Linked DNA regions of Homo sapiens: region 1 is linked to region 2. Evidence: promoter capture Hi-C in 16 types of primary human blood cells and fetal thymus (Javierre and others, 2016). All regions are on one chromosome and are shown on one strand. Each heading gives the region's core, a stretch centred on a gene start or on the middle of the fragment in contact. The rest is flanking DNA. Distances are from core to core; before and after follow the strand shown. Region 1 overlaps CCDC142 (coiled-coil domain containing 142). Region 2 holds the start of TPRKB (TP53RK binding protein).

Evidence for each region. Contacts are between HindIII fragments. The CHiCAGO score rates a contact against its expected background, and 5 or more counts as called.
Region 1: a contact is called between a fragment that was not itself captured here and the fragment with the promoter of TPRKB in region 2, in 1 of 17 cell types (non-activated CD4 T cells). The highest score is 5.9, in non-activated CD4 T cells.

Annotation. Positions count from the first base shown.
Region 1 is chr2:74,476,269-74,480,516 of GRCh38, forward strand. The region is part of intron 5 of CCDC142 (coiled-coil domain containing 142); the gene reads right to left. Among named protein-coding and RNA genes, the nearest start is that of CCDC142, 4.6 kb to the right of the region's middle. The HindIII fragment of the contact is 6,387 bases long and covers 1-4,248 here.
Region 2 is chr2:73,734,240-73,738,623 of GRCh38, forward strand. It overlaps TPRKB (TP53RK binding protein), which reads right to left and starts at 3,106. Exons shown (of 5, transcript NM_016058.5): 1 at 3,063-3,106; 2 at 190-352. The coding sequence starts at 330. RefSeq lists enhancers at 3,368-3,447, 3,488-3,547. The HindIII fragment of the contact is 15,665 bases long and covers 1,365-4,384 here.

The sequences.
Region 1 (4,248 bases), core at 119-2,618, 740 kb after region 2:
TTCAAGTGATTCTCCTGCCTCAGGCTCCCAAGTAGGTGGGACTACAGGAGTGCACCACCACACCCAGCTAATTTTTGTATTTTTAGTAAAGACAAGGTTTTGCCATGTTGGTCAGGCTGGTCTCAAACTCCTGATCTCAGGTGATCGGCCTGCCTCTGCCTGCCAAAGTGCTGGGATTACAGATGTGAGCCACTAAGCCACTACACCCAGCCTACAATGATCTTTTGGTTATCACCTACAAAAGGAAGACAAGAACTGTATGTAAACCAGAAGCAATGACTATTTGAATGTTCTGAGACTCAGGAAGTTTTGGAATGTCCTTACATTGAAAGGCATTATTATATATTATTATTCTTCACAGCCCACTCCAGAGCAATATAACCCATAAAGCAAGAAAAGGCCTATATGCTGGGTTTGTTTCTTTGGTTTGATAGGTTGTTTTTGGAGGGAGAGAACACAGCAATAAAGCTGGTTTCTGCTCTACAGCCCATCTTGAGGGAGAGGAACCCCAGTAAATGTGGTTAATGGCAGCTGCTCTGTAAAGAAATGGTAGATGCCAGGGAGCCTGAAGACAGGATAGACCTGGGGGCGGCCAGACATGGAGTGGAGCCCATATGGCTCCTGGCACATCTGACAACCTGTCTAAATCCAAAATCTTCCTCTCTTCTCCAGTAAATGCAAGCCCCCTTCTCCTCCCTTATTTATGTCAAGGAAATTGCCCTTTTGTCAACGGACTTTTGTTAGGAGCCTCTGTACTCAACACTGAGGGAATACAAGGTGCAGAGTGTGTGACAGTCTCTCCCCCACCCACTGGGATCTTATAGTCCAAACAGGAAGAAAACTCACAATGCCTCTTTTTTTTTTTTTGAGACCAAGTTTCGCTCTTATTGCCCAGGCTGGAGTGCAGTTGCGCAATCTCAGATCACTGCAACCTCTGCCTCCTGGGTTCAACCGATTCTCATGCCTCAGCCTCTGAGCAGCTGGGATTACAGGCACCCGTCACCATGCCTGGCTAATTTTTGTATTTTTAGTAGAGATGGGGTTTTACCATGTTGGCCAGGCTGGTCACAAACTCCTGACCTCAAGTTATCCACCCATCTCGGCCTCCCGAAATGCTGGGATTACACCCTTCTGCTCTTAAAATGTCACCCCCTCACTTATGAGGTAAAGCGCAAATTGTTGGGGCTGGTGTTCATGCCCTCCACAATTTGATGCCAAATTGCTTACTACCCTACCCCACACCCAACCCCAGTGAACATACCCACAAAAGGAACCTCTGCTCTGGTAAGGCCACCTCTCTGCTACCCCCACAAGGATCTACAAACTGCCCACTTCCAGTAACCCCAGCCACTCCTCTGAGGCTTCCCAGCCACCATCTCCAGCCATAGGCCATGTATGGAGCGTTCTTTAACCACATGCCCACTATAGCCTTCCTTCCTCAGGGCTCTATGACCGTCACTGTGTGCAGTACTCATGATGAGCCTGCTCTGGGGCATGTTGAGTTTAAGTAGACAGCAGTAAACTGAGGTAGAAATGCCCAACAGGCAAATGCAGATGTTTAACTAGAACTCTGGGAGCCAGGCTGGGTGTGGAGGCTCATGCCTGTAATCCCAGAACTTTGGGAGGCCAAGGCGGTGGATTGCTTGAGCTCAAGAGTTCAAGAACAGGGCACATGTTCTCAGATCTCCTGAGGGCTATGTCACGAGCCAAACTTCTAATTAAAAAAAAAATATATATATATATAAATAGATATAATATAAATAAAATATATATAGATATAATATAAATAAAATATATATATATACTTTTTTTTTTTTGAGTCTCACTCTGTTGCCCAGGCTGGAATGCAATGGCACGCTCTCGACTCACTGGAACCTCCGCCTCCCGGATTCAAGTGATTCTCCTGCCTCAGCCTCCCGAGTAGCTGGGATTACAGGTGTACACCACAATGTCCAGCTAATTTTTGTATTTTTAGAAGAGACAGGGTTTCACCATGTTGGCCAGGCCGGTCTTGATCTCCTAACCTCAGATGATCCACCTGCCTCGGTTTCCCAAAGTGCTGGGATTACAGGTGTGAGCCACTGCACCTGGACAAAAAATTTTTTTGTTTTCTGTTTTTTTTTTGAGACAGAATTTTTGTTCTTGTTGCCCAGGCTGGAGTGCAATGGCGCTATCTCGGCTCACTGCAACTTCCGCCTCCTAGGTTCAAGCGATTCTCCTGCCTCAGCCTCAGAAGTAGCTAGGATTACAGGCACCTGCCACCATACCGGCTACTTTTTTGTATTTTTAGTAGAGACGGGGTTTCACCACGTTGGGCAGGCTGGTCTTGAACTCCTGACCTCAGGCGATCCACCCACCTTGGCCTCCCAAAAAAGTTTTTTAAAAAGATTTTTAAAAAGGGTTCAAGACCAGCCTGGGCAACATGGCAAAACCTTGTCTCTACAAAAAAAAAAATTTTTTTAAGTAGCTGGGCATTGGCCGGGTGTGGTGGCTCACACCTATAATCCCAGCACTTTGGGAGGCTGAGGTGGGTGGATCACCTGAGGTCAAGGGTTCCAGACCAGCCTGGCCAACATGGTGAAACCCATCTCTACTAAAAATACAAAAACTAGCTGGGCGTGGTGGCAGGCGCCTGTAATCCCAGCCACTCAGGAGGCTGAGGCAGGAGAATCACTTGAACCTGAGAGGTGGAGGTTGCAGTGAGTAGAGATCACGCCACTGCACTCCAGCCTGGGTGACAGAGTGAGACACCTTCTCAAAAAAAAAAAAAAAAAAAGTAGCTGGGCATTGTGGCTTCCACCTGTGGTTCCAGCTACTCAGGAGGCTGAGGTGGGAGGATTGCTTGAGCCCAGGAGGTGGAGGTTGCAGTGAGCCAAGATCACATAACTGCACTCCAGCCTGGGTGACAGTGAGACCCCATCTTAGAAAAAAAAAAAGAACTCTGGGAGCCAGAAAGACTGAACCCGGGAGTTCACAGCAGCAAGACACTGTGGGTAAGCAGGAATACTGAGAGAAAAGCAGAGAGTTAAGGACTGAACTCTACAGCCACACCCCTATTCGGGGCAAAGAGGAGAAAACTGAGCAGGAAAACAAAAAACCAGACATCTTCCACATAGGAATAGATAAATGTGCAAAATGGGGAAGAAAAAGTATAATGGCTTTATTCATAAACATATAAGAAAATGTTAGGAGAAACAGGCAAACATGGATGAAGGTTACTACTGTGAAATAGAAATCAGAGGTGAGTGAGGGCAAACAAAGTGCTGTTTTTTCATTAGTTTTATAAAATAATATTCTATTTCACTTTTTAAACTATAGACATGCACTATTTTATTTTTTGAGACAGGGTCTCTCACTGTATTGCCTAGGCTGGCTGGAATGCAGTGGCTATCACAGCTTACTGCAGCCTTGACCTCCTGGGCTCAAACGATCCTCTTGCCTCAGCCTCCCAAGTAGCTGGGAGTACAGGCGCATGCCACCATGCTCAGCTAAATTTTTTAATTTTTGGAGAGATGGGAGTCTGTGTTGCCTAGGGTGGTCTCGCTATGTTGCCCCTGGTGGTCTCGAACTCCTGGCCTCAAGCAATGCTCTTGCCTTGGCCTCCCAAAGCATTAATAAAAATACAAATTAAACTTTTAAGAGAGGAGAAATGTGCCGATAACTGGTAAGTAAAGAGAAAGATGCAATCATTTATCCTGAATTTTCTCTCTAAAATATACCTAAGAGTAACCAAATCATTAATGAAGGCAAGTTTTTCTTCATAGGAGTAATCCAACTCATAAATGAAGTAGGAATGATGAGAATTGAAATGTTACCACTTTACAACCTCTAATGAAATAATGAATCGAGGCAATGATCCACTGTTGCCATCAAAAACGAGAGTCTGGCATTACTGGGGAGAGGGTAGGGGATACACAGATGAAATTGACCATGAGTTGATAATTGTTAAATGCTTGGTGACAGACATATGGGAGTCCATTATACACCTCTCTCTACATTTGTACATGTTTGAAATTTTCCATAGTAAAATGTTAAAGGGGCCAGGCATGGTGGCGCATGCCTGTAATCCCAGCACTTTGGGAGACCAAGGTGGATGGATCACTTGAGCTCAAGGGTCCGAGACCAGATTGGGCAACATGGTGAAACCCTGTCTCTACTAAAAAAATTCAAAAGTTAGACACGTGTGGTGGCACGAGCTTGTAGTCTCAGCTACTAGGGAGGCTGAGGTGGGAGGACCGTTTAAGCCCA
Region 2 (4,384 bases), core at 1,856-4,355:
AGGCGCCCGCCACCACGCCCAGCTAATTTTTGTATTTTTAGTTGAGACAGGGTTTCACCATGTTGGCCAGGCTGGTCTTCAACTCCTGACCTCAGATGATCCACCCGCCTCGGCCTCCTAAAGTGCTGGCATTACAGGCGTGAGCCACCGCACCCAGCAGGCTCATTCATTCTTAAAATTTATATTTACCACTGTAGGATTTATCAGTGATCCATCGATGGTGCCTTCCATGGCCTTTCTTCTCAAGTCTCCCGCATTTTTTACATCTTTAAATAACAGAAGGGTTACCCTGCATTCGGGAAATAGGTCCAGCTGATGTGTTAACTGCATTTCACAGATAAGCAGGATTCTACTGCACACAAAATGAAAAGACCAAAAGATTTCATTTAAAAGTTAACATCAGAACTCATTTCTTAATAAATATTCAAAAACTTTGAAAGTAACTTGATAAAAGTGTTAAACTAGAAAAATCCATCGCCAAAGCCCATTTGGCATCCTCATGAGATGTTGTCTTCCTAACCCTTCTGAGTTGTTCTGTTGTCATCCCCAGGGAAACGCCAAGGGGCCCAGCTGGTTGCTGTTTGTTCAGATGAGGCAGGCTCAGGTGCATGGTTGAAGGGCTGCTTCCCCAGCAGACAAGTAGGAGCAGAATGTCAGGAATTTTTTAAACCAGAGGTTGCTTACGGTATTAATGAAGTCTTACTCTATCTTAGTCTTTTTAACTTCCTGATCTCATCATTTTATTTATATTTTAGGAAGGCCTAGACATAAATATTAAGGAAGAAAATAATTTTAAAGAATAAAGTAGGCTGGGTGCAGTGGCTCATGCCTGTAATCTCAGCACTCTGGGAGGCCGAGGCGAGCAGATCACCTGAGGTTGGGAGTTCGAGACCAGCCTGACCAACATGGAGAAACCCCGTCTCTACTAAAAATGCCAAAAAAATTAGCCAGGCATGGTGGCGCATGCCTGTAATCCCAGCTACTCAGGAGGCTGAGGCAGAAGAATCGCTTGAACCTGGGAGGCAGAGGTTGCAGTGAGCCGAGATCATACCATTGCACCCCAGCCTGGGCAACAAGAGTGAAACTCCGTCTCAAAAAAAAAAAAGAATAGGGGGAAGGGATAGCATTAGGAGATATACCTAATGTAAACGATGAGTTAATGGGTGCAGCATACAAACATGGCACATGTATACAGATGTAACAAACCTGCACGTTGTGCACATGTACCCTAGAACTTAAAGTATAAAAATAAAAAAAAAGGATAAAGTATCCCACTTGACCCAAAGATATTCATTCCACGCATGGAAATTAAGCAGAGAGGGTACAATTATTAAATAATCAATGTCGCTCCTTTCTTGGACATAAGCTTAACAAGAAAAGGATAGGTTATTATATATAAAGACATAAAAGAAACATAAAAGACAACTTGAATAACCAGAAAGACATGACCATATCTTTGAATGGAAAAACTATGTATTGCAAAAATTTCTTTAAAACAATTTCTATCAAATTCTTAATAAAATATTTTGGTGGGGCAATTTGAGACTCATTTTATCCTTTTACCTGGCAGATTATATTTCTAGAACTCTTTCTGATGGAAGTCATTAGGAATCCAATAATTATATAAGATGTTCCTCTCATTATTTTAACAGTAAAAAGTTGCAAATAACCTATCTAGCTAATGATGGGATTAGTTGTTATTTAACAACCATTAAAACATGTGGTCTTGACGGTGTGTAAAAACGGCAATAAATAACATTAAGTAAGTAAAAACATCTGAATGGAAAACAAAACACAAACTGGCCAAAATGTGGGTTTTTTAAAAGGCTTTTAAACAAATATTAAAAAGAAAATACACCAAAAAGTTAATGTTATCTCTTATTTAGAATTAATTTGACTTTTTCTGTTACAAACAGAAAAAAATATATTTGTGAACGATATCCTGGCACACAGTTCAATCATTAGTCATGCTAAGGTGGAAAAAATGGATACAGAAAGACATAATCAGTAGGATCCCAATTATATAAAAAGATACACATATTTTTTTAAAATACATGAAAGAAACACTAAAATATGACCATCTTGGGTAGTGAGGTTATGAGGTGATTTTTATTGTCCTTTATATAAAAGAAAATATTTTGTTATGTATGTTCTGAATTTTCTACAGTAAGCACACAAAACATGAGTACACATAATAAGAAAGGAAAAAAACGTGCTTTTTAACACTGAGTGGGGGGAAGAACCCTTAGAAAACTTCAAAATAGTTTGTTCTTGTTTAGCGTAATTTACTCACTCAGGTCAGAAACTTGGAATCATCGTTGAGACCCAACCTGTCACTCAAATCCTATATCTAATCCGTAAAGTCCTGAATTTTCACCTGCTAAATATACTTTTGATTCGTCCACTTCTCTCCCATACGCTAGGTCACATCGCTCATCTACAGCAGTAGCCTTCTGAGTGGTTTCTCACAATTCCTGCCCTCCTATAATCCAGTCGTCACCAGCAGTTACAGTGATCCTTTCAAAATGTACATCAGATCTTGTCATTCTGCTGCTCTTATGATAAAGCCCCAACTTTGTGTCACGGTGTTCCACACTCTACGATCTGGTCCCTGCCTCTCCTCTTCTGCTACCGCCGCAATGGCCTTCTCTAAGCTCAAGTCACCAACCTTTCTCCCCGATTCTGCCCTATCGGACAGGTAGTTCCCTCTCTCCTTTCATCTCCGCCTGACGCACTCCTCCCTCCCTTCAACTCCATTTGGAGTCCATTTACTACAGCGCCCAGAACCCCGGCACTACGGCTCTTTTTAGTCTGAGGACTAGCTCCTTTTTGGGCCCAATCACAACTCTGAAGAATCCTGCGCCTATCCGCTGCATGTCTCCTCACTAAACTATTTCTTGAGGGGACAGCCTGACTCTATCATTCTCGTGCTGCATTCCCAGGGGCTGGCCTCGTTGCCGCTTGAGAAATACCAACCGCAGCCGTTGTCCCAAAGACACTACTAAAACTGCCCGGACCCTCCCGCTCCCGAGCCTGCCCGTTAGAGCGCAAGGAAAACTCACCATCCGGCCCCCAGTGCGTCTCGGAAGAGCTCCCGCTCCGAAACAAAGCTCACAACTTCCGGAAGCGATGGCCAATCCCCGTCTTCTTCGAGCCAGTTTCCGGATAGGCCGGCTCGGGGTGGCCATCTGTTTCCGGGTCCTGGTAGGAGGGGTGCTTCCGCCCATGGTCCCGCCCATTCTTCCGCCTCCCCAACCTGGGTCCCGTCAACGGACGCGAAGGAGAACAGGGGCTGTATATCACTTCCGGCGAAGGAAATGGAAGAATCTATGGGCTGGGACCGGAAGCTGGGGTCTGGTTTTGAGTCTCGGCTTTGTCTTAACCTGTGTTGGGCGTTGCACCGGGCGACCTCAGTTTCTTCCTGTACAAGGAAAAGTACTGACCAAAATGAGTTCTACATACATTTCCGCTGCTGGAGATTTCTTTGGTTTTTGAGACAGAGTCTTGCTCTGTTACTCAGGCTGGAGTGCTGTGGTGCAATCTCGGCTCACTGCAACCTCCGCGTCCCGGTTCAAGCCATTCTCCTGCCTCAGCCTCCCGAGCAGCTGGGACTACAGGCACCCGCCACCACGCCCCGCTAATTTTTTGTATTTTTAGTAGAGACGGGGTTTCACCGTGTTAGCTAGGATGGTCTGGATCACCTGACCTCGTGATCCACCCGCCTTGGCCTCCCAAGGAGCTGGGATTAGTTCTTTTTCTGGGCCATGTCTCCTGTGACACTTTGGACTTTTGAGTTTAATGCTGGAACAAGTTAAAATTTTGGTAGGTGATTGGGAAGGCATGATTATGTTTTGCAATGTCAGAAGGACATGAGATTTGGGGGTCCAGGGATGGATTGAATATATGTCCCTGCCAAATCTCATGTTGAATTGTCCCCATTTTTGGAGGTGGGACCTGATGGGAGGTGTTTGGGTCATGGAAGTGGATCTCTCATGGCTTGGTGTCTTTGCAATAGTGAGTGAGTGCCAGGAAGATGTGGTTATTTAGAAGTGTGTGGCACCCTCCAACACAGTCTCTTGGTCCAGTTCTCACCATGTGATGTGCCTGCTCTCTCTTCTCCTTCTGCCAATAGTAAAAGCTCCCTGGGGCCTCCTCAGAGGCCAAACAGATGGTGGTACTATGCTTCCTGTACAGCCTGCAGAAACATGAGCCAATTTAACCTCGTTTCTATATAAATTACCCAGTCTCAGGTATTTCTTTGTGGCAATGCAACAGCCTAATTGCAGGGGGCAGGGGCAGGGGGAAGAGGTGGGGAGGCATGACACACTGGGCTAAAACATGAAGAACATTCGGCCAGGTGCGGTGGCTCACGCCTGTAATCCCA